Linked DNA regions of Homo sapiens: region 2 is linked to region 1. The links are contacts of gene promoters, found by promoter capture Hi-C in blood cells and fetal thymus (Javierre and others, 2016). All regions are on one chromosome and are shown on one strand. The core of a region is centred on a gene start or on the middle of the fragment in contact, and the rest is flanking DNA. Distances in the headings are between cores, read along the strand shown.

The links. The method cuts DNA at HindIII sites, captures the fragments that hold promoters and counts their contacts. A CHiCAGO score of 5 or more calls a contact.
Region 2: a fragment that was not itself captured here is called in contact with the fragment with the promoter of PPAT in region 1 in 1 of 17 cell types (neutrophils); the score reaches 5.0 in neutrophils.

The regions. Positions count from the first base shown.
Region 1 is chr4:56,432,091-56,437,770 of GRCh38, reverse strand. It overlaps PPAT (phosphoribosyl pyrophosphate amidotransferase), which reads left to right and starts at 2,156. Exons shown (of 11, transcript NM_002703.5): 1 at 2,156-2,421. The coding sequence starts at 2,294. PAICS (phosphoribosylaminoimidazole carboxylase and phosphoribosylaminoimidazolesuccinocarboxamide synthase) reads right to left here and starts at 1,511. Exons shown (of 9, transcript NM_001079524.2): 1 at 1,443-1,511. The coding sequence starts at 1,458. RefSeq lists enhancers at 541-1,424, 2,272-2,451 and silencers at 1,552-1,841, 1,982-2,181. The HindIII fragment of the contact is 7,763 bases long and covers 1-2,883 here.
Region 2 is chr4:53,366,630-53,372,309 of GRCh38, reverse strand. No RefSeq gene overlaps it. Among named protein-coding and RNA genes, the nearest start is that of SCFD2, 3.4 kb to the right of the region's middle. The HindIII fragment of the contact is 4,265 bases long and covers 204-4,468 here.

The DNA.
Region 1 (5,680 bases), core at 907-3,406:
CGGCTCACTGCAGCCTCTGACTCCCCGGTTCAAGTGATTCTCCTGCCTCAGGTTCCCGAGTAGCTAGGATTACAGGCATACGCCACCACGTCCAGCAAATTTTTGCATTTTTAGTAGAGCCGGGGTTTCACCATGTTGGTCAGGATGATCTCGATCTCCTGACCTCGTGATCCGCCCGCCTGGGACTCCCAAAGTGCTGGGGATTACAGGCGTGAGCCACAGCGCCCGGCCTGAGTCTACAGCTTTTTAAAATCTGAATTCAGTTACTTTCTATGTGGAAAAGAATGTACCCAGCAGCCACAAAAGCAATTTGCCTCACTATACATATAGCAACTGGGTGTGTGGAAAAAACCAGCATTTGTTTTTTTCCAGCATAAATAGCAAGAACAATCTTTCCTGATAGTGCAACTTTTTTGCCTAAAGGTTTTGGAGTTCTTCAAAGCCATCGTGGCATCAAAGACTACTGGAACGAACACACACACACACACACACACACACACACACACACACACACCATCATGGCATCAAAGACTACCTAAAAACAGCCCCCCTCCCCAGCCATCATGGAATCAGACTACTTCAACACGCGCGCGCACACACATACACACCCATGACATCAAAGACTACTTAAACACGCACACGCACGTACACACACCCCAAGCTATCGTGGCATCAAAGACTACTTCACGCGCGCGTGCACACACACACACACACCATGGCATCAAAGACTACTTACACACACGCCCCCTAGACAGGTTTTTCTTTTTCTTTTTTGAGACGGAGTCTCGCTTTGTCGCCCAGGCTGGAGTGCAATGGCGCGATCTCGGCTCACTGCAACCTCCGCCTCCGGGTTCAAGCGATTCTCCTACCTCAGCCTCCTGAGTAGCTGGGGATTACAGGCGCGCGCCACCACGTCCAGCTAATTTTTTGTATTTTTAGTAAGAGACGGGGTTTCGCCATGTTGGCCAGGCTGGTCTCGTACTACTGACCTCAGGTGATCCGCCCGCCTTGGCCTCCCAAAGTGCTGGGATTACAGGCGTGAGCCACCAGGCCCGGCCTCTAGACAGGTCTTTCAAAAGTTTCAATTATTAACCTTCTTAGAAAGGTCATTAACCTAACGGGCAAAGCAAGACTCAGGTTTTGACGAATCAAGACTGATTTGCTTGTATTTTGCAATAGCTATTGATTATAAATAATACTTCCAGGCACCTTTCCACCCCTTGGCCATTTCTCGTTCTCCTCTACTTTGCTCCTTCTCCCCATCCCCGAGGCAGTAAAGTTCGGGGAGGCCCGGGAGCGCCTGGGCCACGTGTGCGCCCGCGCGGCTGCCTAGAGGCGCTGCTGCAGGGAGGCGGGACAGAGTTTCGCGGCTCGCACGTGGCCGCGAGCTCACGGCCTGGGGGTCAGGGAGACCGTGAAGGGCCCGGATCCCTGTTACTCACCCTCAGCTGTCGCCATTATCCTAAGTGGGCTGAGGGCTGCGACCGCGCCGGGAAGCGAGGCAGAACTCTAGAAAAGAGGGGTGGTCAGAGAGCTTCGCTGGGCGGGGAAGGAGGCGGGGCCGCGCGACCCTGCGCCACTCTTTTCGAGCTCCGCTACAGCCGCCTAACCCGGAGGGGTATGGGCGGAGACTGAAACGCGGATATCGGACGAAACAACGCCCCACTGGCTTCCCGCCGCGCAGGCGCAGAGACGCGACCCCGCCTCCGGGCCGCCCCGCGCTGGCGCAGTGCCCGGACAGGCGAAAAGTGGCGCGCACTGGCGGCCCCTCCCCACTCTGCGGAAGCTCGCATACCCCGGCCCCTTCTCGGCTGCGGGAGCGACTCAGAAGTTGGAGCGTACCAAGTCTTGACGGCCTGGGGGAAGCATGCAGGGAAGGGCATATGAAGGCTAAATGCTCTGAAAGAGAAATGAGGTTAAGTCCGTTACTCCCATTACGCTACTGTTGGGTGCTGGAAAATAACGGAGATTTCCACGTGCAGCAAATACAGCTTTCCAGGCAGCTCTTAGGGGAAGGCTAGCTCCACCCTACAGCATCCGTGACCCCGCCCCTCAGCCGCGGGACCGCCCCTCCGCCCTCGCTCGTTGGTGGACTCGGAGGGGGAGGAGCAGGGCTGAGCTGGCCACGCCACCTAGGGACAGCGCGCGCCGCCGCAGTAGCTGGGGCCACCCTCGGGAAGGAAGAGCCTGTCGCGAGCGCGAGCTTCTGAGCTCGACGGGCCGAGCTGGCAGCTGGTTGGTGCTTACACCTTGGCCGCAGCGGCAGGTCCTTCCACGTGCTTTCGGCGGCGACATGGAGCTGGAGGAGTTGGGGATCCGAGAGGAATGTGGCGTGTTCGGGTGCATCGCCTCAGGAGAGTGGCCCACGCAGCTGGATGTACCGCATGTGATCACTCTGGGACTCGTGGGGCTGCAGCACCGGTGAGCAACAGGGTGGGGGTGGCGGGGGCGTGCGTCTCCATCTCTCGGAGCCGCTTCCCGCAGTCGGCGTTCTCATGAGCGCCCGAGGGCCCGGGAGGACCGACCTCTCCGACCTAAGCCAGTACCTGCCTGTGGCGTCGACCGGGTTGCCTAGGCGTGCACGAGGGGCACCTCGCTTCCATGAACTTTAGCCTGTCCTGCCCACCCTCCCAGCCACTTATGCCTTTTAGGGGCTCTCTCCCTCCCCGCCCCCCGGTGTGTGCACCCATCCAGAGGCTGGCCAGCTTGTAAACCGCCGGTTTGCTTGGTCTAGCTGGGTCAGGGCTCCTCCCCGACTGCAGGCGGGTTCTAGTCTCCCGGAGCCTGTGGCTGCTCCTGTAATAGGCTAGTGTGGCGTGGCGGCCAGTCCAGGTCCTTCAACACCTAAAGGTTTTCGCGCGGGGCCTCCAACCACCACAAGCTTTTGTTTGCAAGGGCAGAGCTATTGAGCAGATTATGGGTTTGAAAGTAGTTATCGCTATGGGAACTTGAGGATGCTAGACTTCAGACCCAGGGAAAGATGACTAGTTGATGTTGAGAATGACTACTGGTAGTAGATCTCACATAAATTAAATGGAAATAAGCCAACCATAGGGAACAGTGCATCTGGAAAAGATTCATTGGTAGACGTCTTGCCTAATGAATGAAAACGTTGGTAATAACATGACAAAAATTAACTCCCTTCTTCAAAAGGGGGACAGGGGAGTAGTGTCTCTATGCCAAGATCCATACACTTGATTTTGAAAAATTGGGAGATCCTTTCGAGTTAAAAAAAATTACTTTGCTTCGGTGATCTTTCCTTTTCTTACTACCTGACTTAACTGGAAGTTGATATAAATTATTACACTAGGATAAGAAAAACAAACCTGGGTTTGATATTCTTACTGAAAGTATTACAGTTTCCATAAGGCAATACAGTGGTAACAACTTACACTACAGTTAAGGAACTTGGCAATAACACGTAACAGCAAAATGGGTGCAACACGTATAAACGCATTCCAAAAGATTAGCTTTTCCTCCACCAAACTTAAATTAGAAGTATTTTTTGCTGTTTTCATTGTCCCAGGTACTTCAATTTCAGTTTCACATTTTGTGTGTTCCTTGTTTACTAAAGAGCTGAGAATGTGGGAAGCATCAAAAAGAATATTTTTAACTTGCGTAGCTCCAATCTTGGATAATTGTGGGTTGACCATAATAGATTTCTTGTTTTTTTTAAAAAAAGTTTATTGAGAAAATTAGTTACGTAATCCAAGGAGAAAGTAAACTCTTGATTATGTGGTAGTTGTGAGCAACATTAGTTTGTAACATTCTTAGAAACTATGGCCAGGCGCGGTGGCTCACGCCTGTAATCCCAGCACTTTGGGAGGCCGAGGCGGGCGGATCACGAGGTTAAGAGATCGAGACCATCCTGGCCAACATGGTGAAACCCCATCTCTGCTAAAAATACAATTAGCTGGGTGTGGTGATGCGCTCCTGTAGTCCTAGCTACTCCGGAGGCTGAGGCAGGAGAATCGCTTGAACCCGGGAGGCTTAGGTTCCAGAGAGCAGAGATCACGCCACTGCACTCCAGCCTGGGCGACAGAGCGAGACTCCGTCTCAAAAAAAAAAAAACAGTTGTTATTTTGGATACTCTGTCATGGGGGTGAGGGAGAATCTAGAGGTCTTTAGGGTTGCCTGGTGGTCTGTAGAAAATATGTATGAACTGTACTTCACTATATTTACTTTTTTTGCCAAAGTTATTCAAGAAATTTTCATCCCCCTTTCTCCTTCCCTTTAAATGTGTGCCTGAAGAAAAAGAGGCTTTTTTTTTTTTTTAACTTACATGTTAGCACTGGTTGGAGTTTTAGTACCCAGTTTAGGAAAATACTTGGTATTCATGGTTATAGGTTTTTTTTTTCTTTTTTTTTTTTTTTAATGAATACCATTTGATTCCTGGTTACATATATCTGTTTTCTATAGTTGCTTTTCTGTGAAAGAATTGTAAGATTAAATAATACCAGATAAGGGCAATAATGATGTGATTATGTGGTTTTGAGGAACAAATGTATTACTGAAAAACAATTTAACATTTCTCTTGTGTAGGCATAGAATCATTAAGGTGCACAAAGAGGGCTGGTTCTCACCCATAATCAATTCAAAATTTTACATGAGCTAAAGTGCTCATCCTTTGGGAGGACTGATTCTGCTTGGAAGAACAATGACACTCCCTTATGTCTTGGAAATACAATTATCTGCTGCTCGAAACTGATAGATAAGGGCCAGAATAAAACTAAGAACTTTTTCTTTTAGTTTAGTTTTATATATATATATATAAAATACGTGTGTGTATGTATATATGTATATATATATCGTACTCTGAGAAGTGGTGGTCTGTTGCAGAAAGCTCTGTTTTCACTTTCTCACCCTCATTCACTCACTGGTTAGTTTTAAAACAACTGCAAAAAGGTTTGATTGTGTTTTTTTCCTTTTTGATGAAGGAATTTATTTCTTATATATTATCTTCTTGATTTTTTTTTTTTTTTTGAGACAGAGTCTCGCTGTCTCCCAGGCTGGGGTGGAGTTCAGTGGCGCAGTCTCCCCTCACTGCAAGCTCCGCCTCCCGGGTTCACGCCATTCTCCTGCCTCAGCCTCCCGAGTAGCTGGGACTACAGGCGCCCCCCACCACGCCCGGCTAATTTTTTGTATTTTTAGTAGAAACGGGGTTTCACTGTGTTAGCCAGGATGGTCTCGATCTCCTGACCTCGTGATCTGCCCGCCTTGGCCTCCCTTTTTTTTTTTTTTTTTTGAGACAGGGTCTCACTCTGTCACCTAGGCTGGAGTGGAGTGGTATGATCTGGGCTCATTGCAACCTCCGTTTCCCAAGTTCAAGTGATTCTCGTACCTGTCTCCCGAGTAGCTGGGATTACAGGCGCCCGCCACCACACTCAGGTAATTTTTGTATTTTTAGCAGAGACGGGGTTTCACCATGTTGACCAGGCTGGTCTTGAACTCCTGGCCTCAAGTGATCCACCCTCTTCGGTCTCCCAAAGTGCTGAGATTACAGGCGTGAGCCACCATGCCTGGCCAACCTTATCTTTAAGAAGATGGAATCTAGAAGGTGAGATTTCTATCACTTTTGTTTTGTATTTGGTCCAGTTTTTTGTCTTGGGTATAATCTAATCTGAAACATTTAGTCCTGGGGTTAACAGAATACCTGGAAGGTATATTAGCCATTTCATAT
Region 2 (5,680 bases), core at 1,087-3,586, 3.1 Mb after region 1:
TGTCTTCCCCATCTGCTCTTCTCACAACTATGCAAATCAGTTAGCAAGATCTGTTAGTGCTTCTCATTAAAACGTATCTCAAATCTATCTACTTCTTTCCATCTGCACTGCCACACTGAAATTCTAGGAACACAAAACCCTTCCGTGGCCTTCTCTTAAATATGAAATAAAATCTAAACTTCCTACCATATGGCCTACAAGCTTCTTCACGGTCTGACAGTCCCTCAAGTTGCATGTGGCTATACAGGCTCTGCATTGCACAACTTTTAGGGGTGTCTGTATCACCTCATTCTTAGTCATCATTTGTCAAATCTTTTAATGTTTTCCCTCATATCACTGCTATAGTCTAAATTTTTGTGTTTCTCCAAAGTTCATATGCCTAAACCTTAATCCTCAATGTGATGGTGTTTGGATATGGGGATTTTGTGAGGTAATTAAGTCCTCCCTAATGGAGAGGGGTTTGGACTTTCATAAGAAAAGACAGGAGAGCTTGCTTCCTCTCTGCCTGCTTTTCACCAACTGAGAATACAGCACAAAGGTGGCCAGCCATTGGTGAGCCAGAGAGAGGGCTGCCATTAGAAATGAATTATGTGAGCACCTTGATTTTGTACTTTCCAGTCTCCAGAACAGTGAGAAATAAACTTTCTTTGCTTATGTCACCCAGTCTATGGTATTTTTGTTGTGACAGCCCAAACTAAGACAGTCTCTGTGCTTATTCCCTCCAAGTTCTTCCAGACCTGATCCCCAACTCTGCATTTAGCTCTCAGTCCCTACCTTTGTTCCATTTTATGTGCATGCCCAACAGTTTCAGTATTTTAGCAGAAGGATGTCTCTACTTGTTCACTAAACCAAAATCTAACTTCCCTCCAAGGACAGGACTTCTCCTTATCTTTCTATACTGAATATCTGCCATTATCCTTCACCCTGTTGTACTGTGAATGCTTGAGATAGTGCTGTCATTCCCCCGGTTCTTGTGGACCACTACCAGGCCATTACGGTTCCCATTTTGCTGTGAAAAAACCTTCCTCTTTTCCAGCTCATACCATTTGTATTTACCACCTCTTCTCCTTTTTCATTTTCCTTCAACTACAAGTGATATCTGCGGTTGAAGTCCACAGTCTTCCTTTCCTCCATCATGATGTGTGACTTGCATATGTTGCTTGACTCATGTTTTCTGACCTTCTGGAGTCTAATGGTCTTCATTCACTCTACTTCCTTAGGGCACATTCAGGGTTATACCCTGGATCTTATTATATCCTAGAATTTTTCCCTCCTTGGCTGGGCGCAGTGGCTCACACCTGTAATCCCAGTGCTTTGGGAAGCCAAGGTCAGAATATGGTTTGAGCCCAGGAGTTCAAGCCAGCTTGGGCAACACAGCAAGACCCTGTCTCTGTAAAAAAAAAAATGAAAGAAAAAAATTAGCTGGCCGGGCACAACGGCTCACGCCTGTAATCCCAGCACTTTGGGGGGCCGAGGTGGGCTGATCACGAGGTCAGGAGATCGAGACCATCCTGGCTAACGCAGTGAAATCCTGTCTCTACTAAAAATACAAAAAATTAGCCAGGCGTGGTGGCAGGTGCCTGTAGTCCCAGCTACTCAGGAGGCTGAGGAAGGAGAATGGTGTGAACCCTGGAGGCGGAGCTTGCAGTGAGCAGTGAAATTGTGCCACTGCATTCCAGCCTGGGGGACAGAGCAAGATTCCATCTCAAAAAAAAAAAAAAATTAGCCATGTGTAGTTGTGTGCACCTGTAGTCCTAGCTACTCAAGAGGCTGCGGCCGGAGGATTGCTTGAAGTCAGGAGTTTGAGTCTGCTGTGAGCTATGATTGTGCCACTGCACTCCAACCTGTGAGACAGAGTGAGACTCTGTCTCTGAAAAAAAAAAAAAAAAAAAAAAAAAAAGCGTTCCCTCCCTGAATCGTAGAGGCCAAGTTACTTTCTTTGACCCTAACTTCATATTCTTCCAACTTTTTTACCTCCTCATTCCCCTACCACCTTCTTTTCTAGGAACTGTGTAGATAATTTCTAGAAGCTGCATTTTCCCCAATCCATTGACTCATTCTGCACTGCACCCCCAGCACTCCCTTGTCATGACTGTACTTTCTTCCTGCACAGGTCAAATCCTGTAGATTCTTCTCATATTCCCTCTCTTTTCCCTTTTCTGACACTTGCCACTGTTGGCCACTCTAGTCTTAAAACTTGCACCTCTCATTACTCCATTCACTGGCTTGACTTCTTCTGCCCATCAAGAAAAGTTGCTCAGAGTTCTCTCCATCACCATCATTGTCTTCTTTCTTTTTTGTGTTCTCTTAAGGCACTCTGAAGCACACCCATTTACTAATAATCCCAATTACCATATTTCTCTTCTGTATTCTGGAATCACACATCCAACAGCATGCTAGATGTTTCTGCCTCGATGTCCCACAAGCATATTGAAAACCTCATGTCCCCACACCTATTAGGATGGCCATTATCAAAAAACCCAGGAAATATCAAGTGTTGGCAAGGATGTGGAGAAATCCGAACCCCTGTGCATTATTAGTAGGAATATAAAATGTTGCAGCCTCTGTAAAAAACAAAACAAAAACAGAGGTCCATCAAGAAGTTAAAAATAGAATTATCATATGATCCAGCAATTCCACTCTGGGTCCATGTACAAAAGAACTGAAAGTAGGATTTGTAGGGAAAGAAAACCATACACCTTTAGGGAATTATTTGAAATCTGTATGTGTCACTTCCAACTATCTTATTCACCCGTGCCTCATCATTTGTCCATAGCTAGCTGCAAGAGGCTTGGAAAAGTAGTCTTTAGCTGTGTGTCTATGAGTTCAGAATAAACCTATTACTACAGAAGAAGAGACAAATAAATATTGAGGCGACCACTAGCACTTACTGGCACAATATTCAACCATGACTTCATGAGTGCCTTGCCCTTTCAGAGAAGATGAAGTATTAATTCACTCAAACTTACCTAATGAATGTATGATTCAGCATGAGATGCAAGGGGTAGAAACAAAAAGTGAGCTTGAGATCAAGATTAATGCAGGTGTTAGTAACTAGGCACTGACCTGGGTTTAAATGGAAGAGCAAGGGCTGTCATCCAACAACTTATTCAACTTAAGCTCCTTAAAATAATTTTCATGCTGACAAGGATACAAACATGTAGGAATATCTTCTTGTTTACTAGTTCAACATTTGAACTTGGGTCTGTCATTGGCCCTTTTACCTACTAGGTTCTACCAGGTTTATGACTCTTCTGCTGCATATTCAAGGTGCCATTATTCACAATAGCTAAAAGGTGGAAGCAGACCAAATGTCCATAGGCAGATGAATGGATAAACAAAATGGTGTAACATACAATGGAATGTTATTCAGCCTCAAAAAGAAAGAAAATTCTGATGCACGTTACAATATAGATTAACTTGGAGGACTTTATGCTAAGTGAAATAAGTCAATCACAACAAAACAAATACTGTATTGTTCCACTTATATGAGGTATCTAGAGTAGTCAACTACTACATTGCCAACAACTAGAGTAGTCAACTCATAGAAACAGAAAGTAGAGTGGAAGTCACCAAGGACTGTGGAGAGGGGGAATGGGGAGTTGTTGTTTAATGGGTACAGGGTTTCAGTTTTGTGAGACAAGAAGTTCAGAGATTGGTTATACAACAATGTGAATGTACTTAATGCCACCAAAATGTACATTTTACAATGGTTAAGATGGTGTGACTTTTATGTTACACTTATCTTGCCATAAGGAAACAAACAAACAAAAATATGTCCCCACTAAACTCTGTATTTATTCCGCAATCTGCTTCTCTTAATGGTTTTTCAAATCTCAATGACTGGCATTCATCAGTCATCCAGACAGAAAGCTGGGTGCTAACCTGAAATTCTCCTTCCGTGTCACCCTCTCTGTCAAACTAATAAGCAAGCCCTTTGGCACTATATTCTTAACGTCTATTCATACTCCCCACTCTGTCCATCTGCTTGTTACGCTTTTCAACTCTCTCACCCAGATTTGCTGCTGATACTATTATTTTCTTAACTGCTCCCTCTGCGCTAAATTGCTCCATTTCAAATTATTTTCCATGTTTTGACTAGAACCATTTTTTTTCTAAAATCCAGATGTGAACAAATTATTTCCATACCCCAAAATACATTAATACTTCCCCACTGGCTGCTACTACTTAGAATGGAAAATAAGGCTCTTGCTGATCTAGCCCATTTCTTTCTTTTCTAATTCCTTGCTCTTATTTCTTCTTGCGCCTTTTTTCATACAATGCACTCCAGCTATAGGAAACCCTTTGTAGTTCCAGAGAACATATTGTACTGTTTTATGCCTCTACGACTTTGTTTATGCTGCACTCTGTGCCTGGACTGCTAAGAATCCTCCTCCCCATCCTGTCCACCTGGTGAACACCTGGGTTTCTTTGAAGGCAAGTCAAAACTCATGCCCTATATGAAGCTTTTTCTGACTTCTTCCTTTTTCTCTTAGAATTTATTTTTCCTCCTTCTTGACTCCTATACAAAAAATTTTAAAAAGTATTTGCTTCTGTAACATTTTATTGCACTTGTTTTACATGTGTGGGTCCCTTTATTTCATCATAATTATTTTGAAATCAGGGCTGTGGTTTAGTTTTCTTTATATCCTTAAAACCCAGACAGTGTTTGGAATACTGTACGTATTTATTAAAAATTGGCTGGATATATTATTATGTGGAATTTTTTTTTTTTTTGAGACAGAGTCTCGCTCTGTCGCCCAGGCTGGAGTGCAGTGGTGCCATCTTGGCTCACTGCAACCTCTCCCTCCTGGGTTCAAGTGATTCTCCTGCCTCAACCTCCCGAGTAGCTGGGATTACAGGTACCTGCCACCATGTCCAGCTATTTTTTGTACTTTTAGTAGAGACGGAGCTTCACCATGTTGGCCAAGCTGGTCTTGAGCCCCTGACCTCAGGTGATCTGCCCACCTCGGCCTCCCAAAGTGTTGGGATTACAGGCATGAGCCACCGCGCCTGGCCATGGATATTAATTGAACATTCATTCAACGAACATTTATTGAACACCTGTTATAAGTGTTGGGGATACCAAGCATCTAGTGCATAATTTAGCAAAACAGATAGTTTAAAGAAAATAGTGTTAATACTTACCCCATGATATGGCAAGTACTTAGCGAATGTATCAATTGAGTGGTTTGATAGGTGGGGGAAGTGAGAGGTGATAGGGTGATAGTGGTGGTGAGTTAGAAAAAGTCTCTCACAGGCAGTACTGTTGGAATGATTATTTTCGGTAAGTTTACCAGGTAAATTCTTTGTGGATTAGGTAATGAATTTTATTAACCATTGCATCTTTGAAGCTTAGCACAGAGATTATACTTAGTAATGTAAGTATATTGGTGGAACAAACAGAACCCATAAAACATTTTGGGTTCAGCCTATTGACTTCATTGTATCGGTACAATTTTTCTCCATGTTGGGAATAGCTGGAGAGAAATTGAGAAATCAAGAAGGATGTTGATGCTTTTTAAAGAGTGTGGATGTATCCTATAGGCAACTGGGCTAGGAGAAGCTTTTAAGCAGGAAAGTTGTAGGACCAACTTTGTTTATTAGGAAGAAAATAGAATTGGAGGGTAAAGAGATCAAAAGTCAGAAAATGTTGGGAGATCATTGCCTGGGTGAGCGA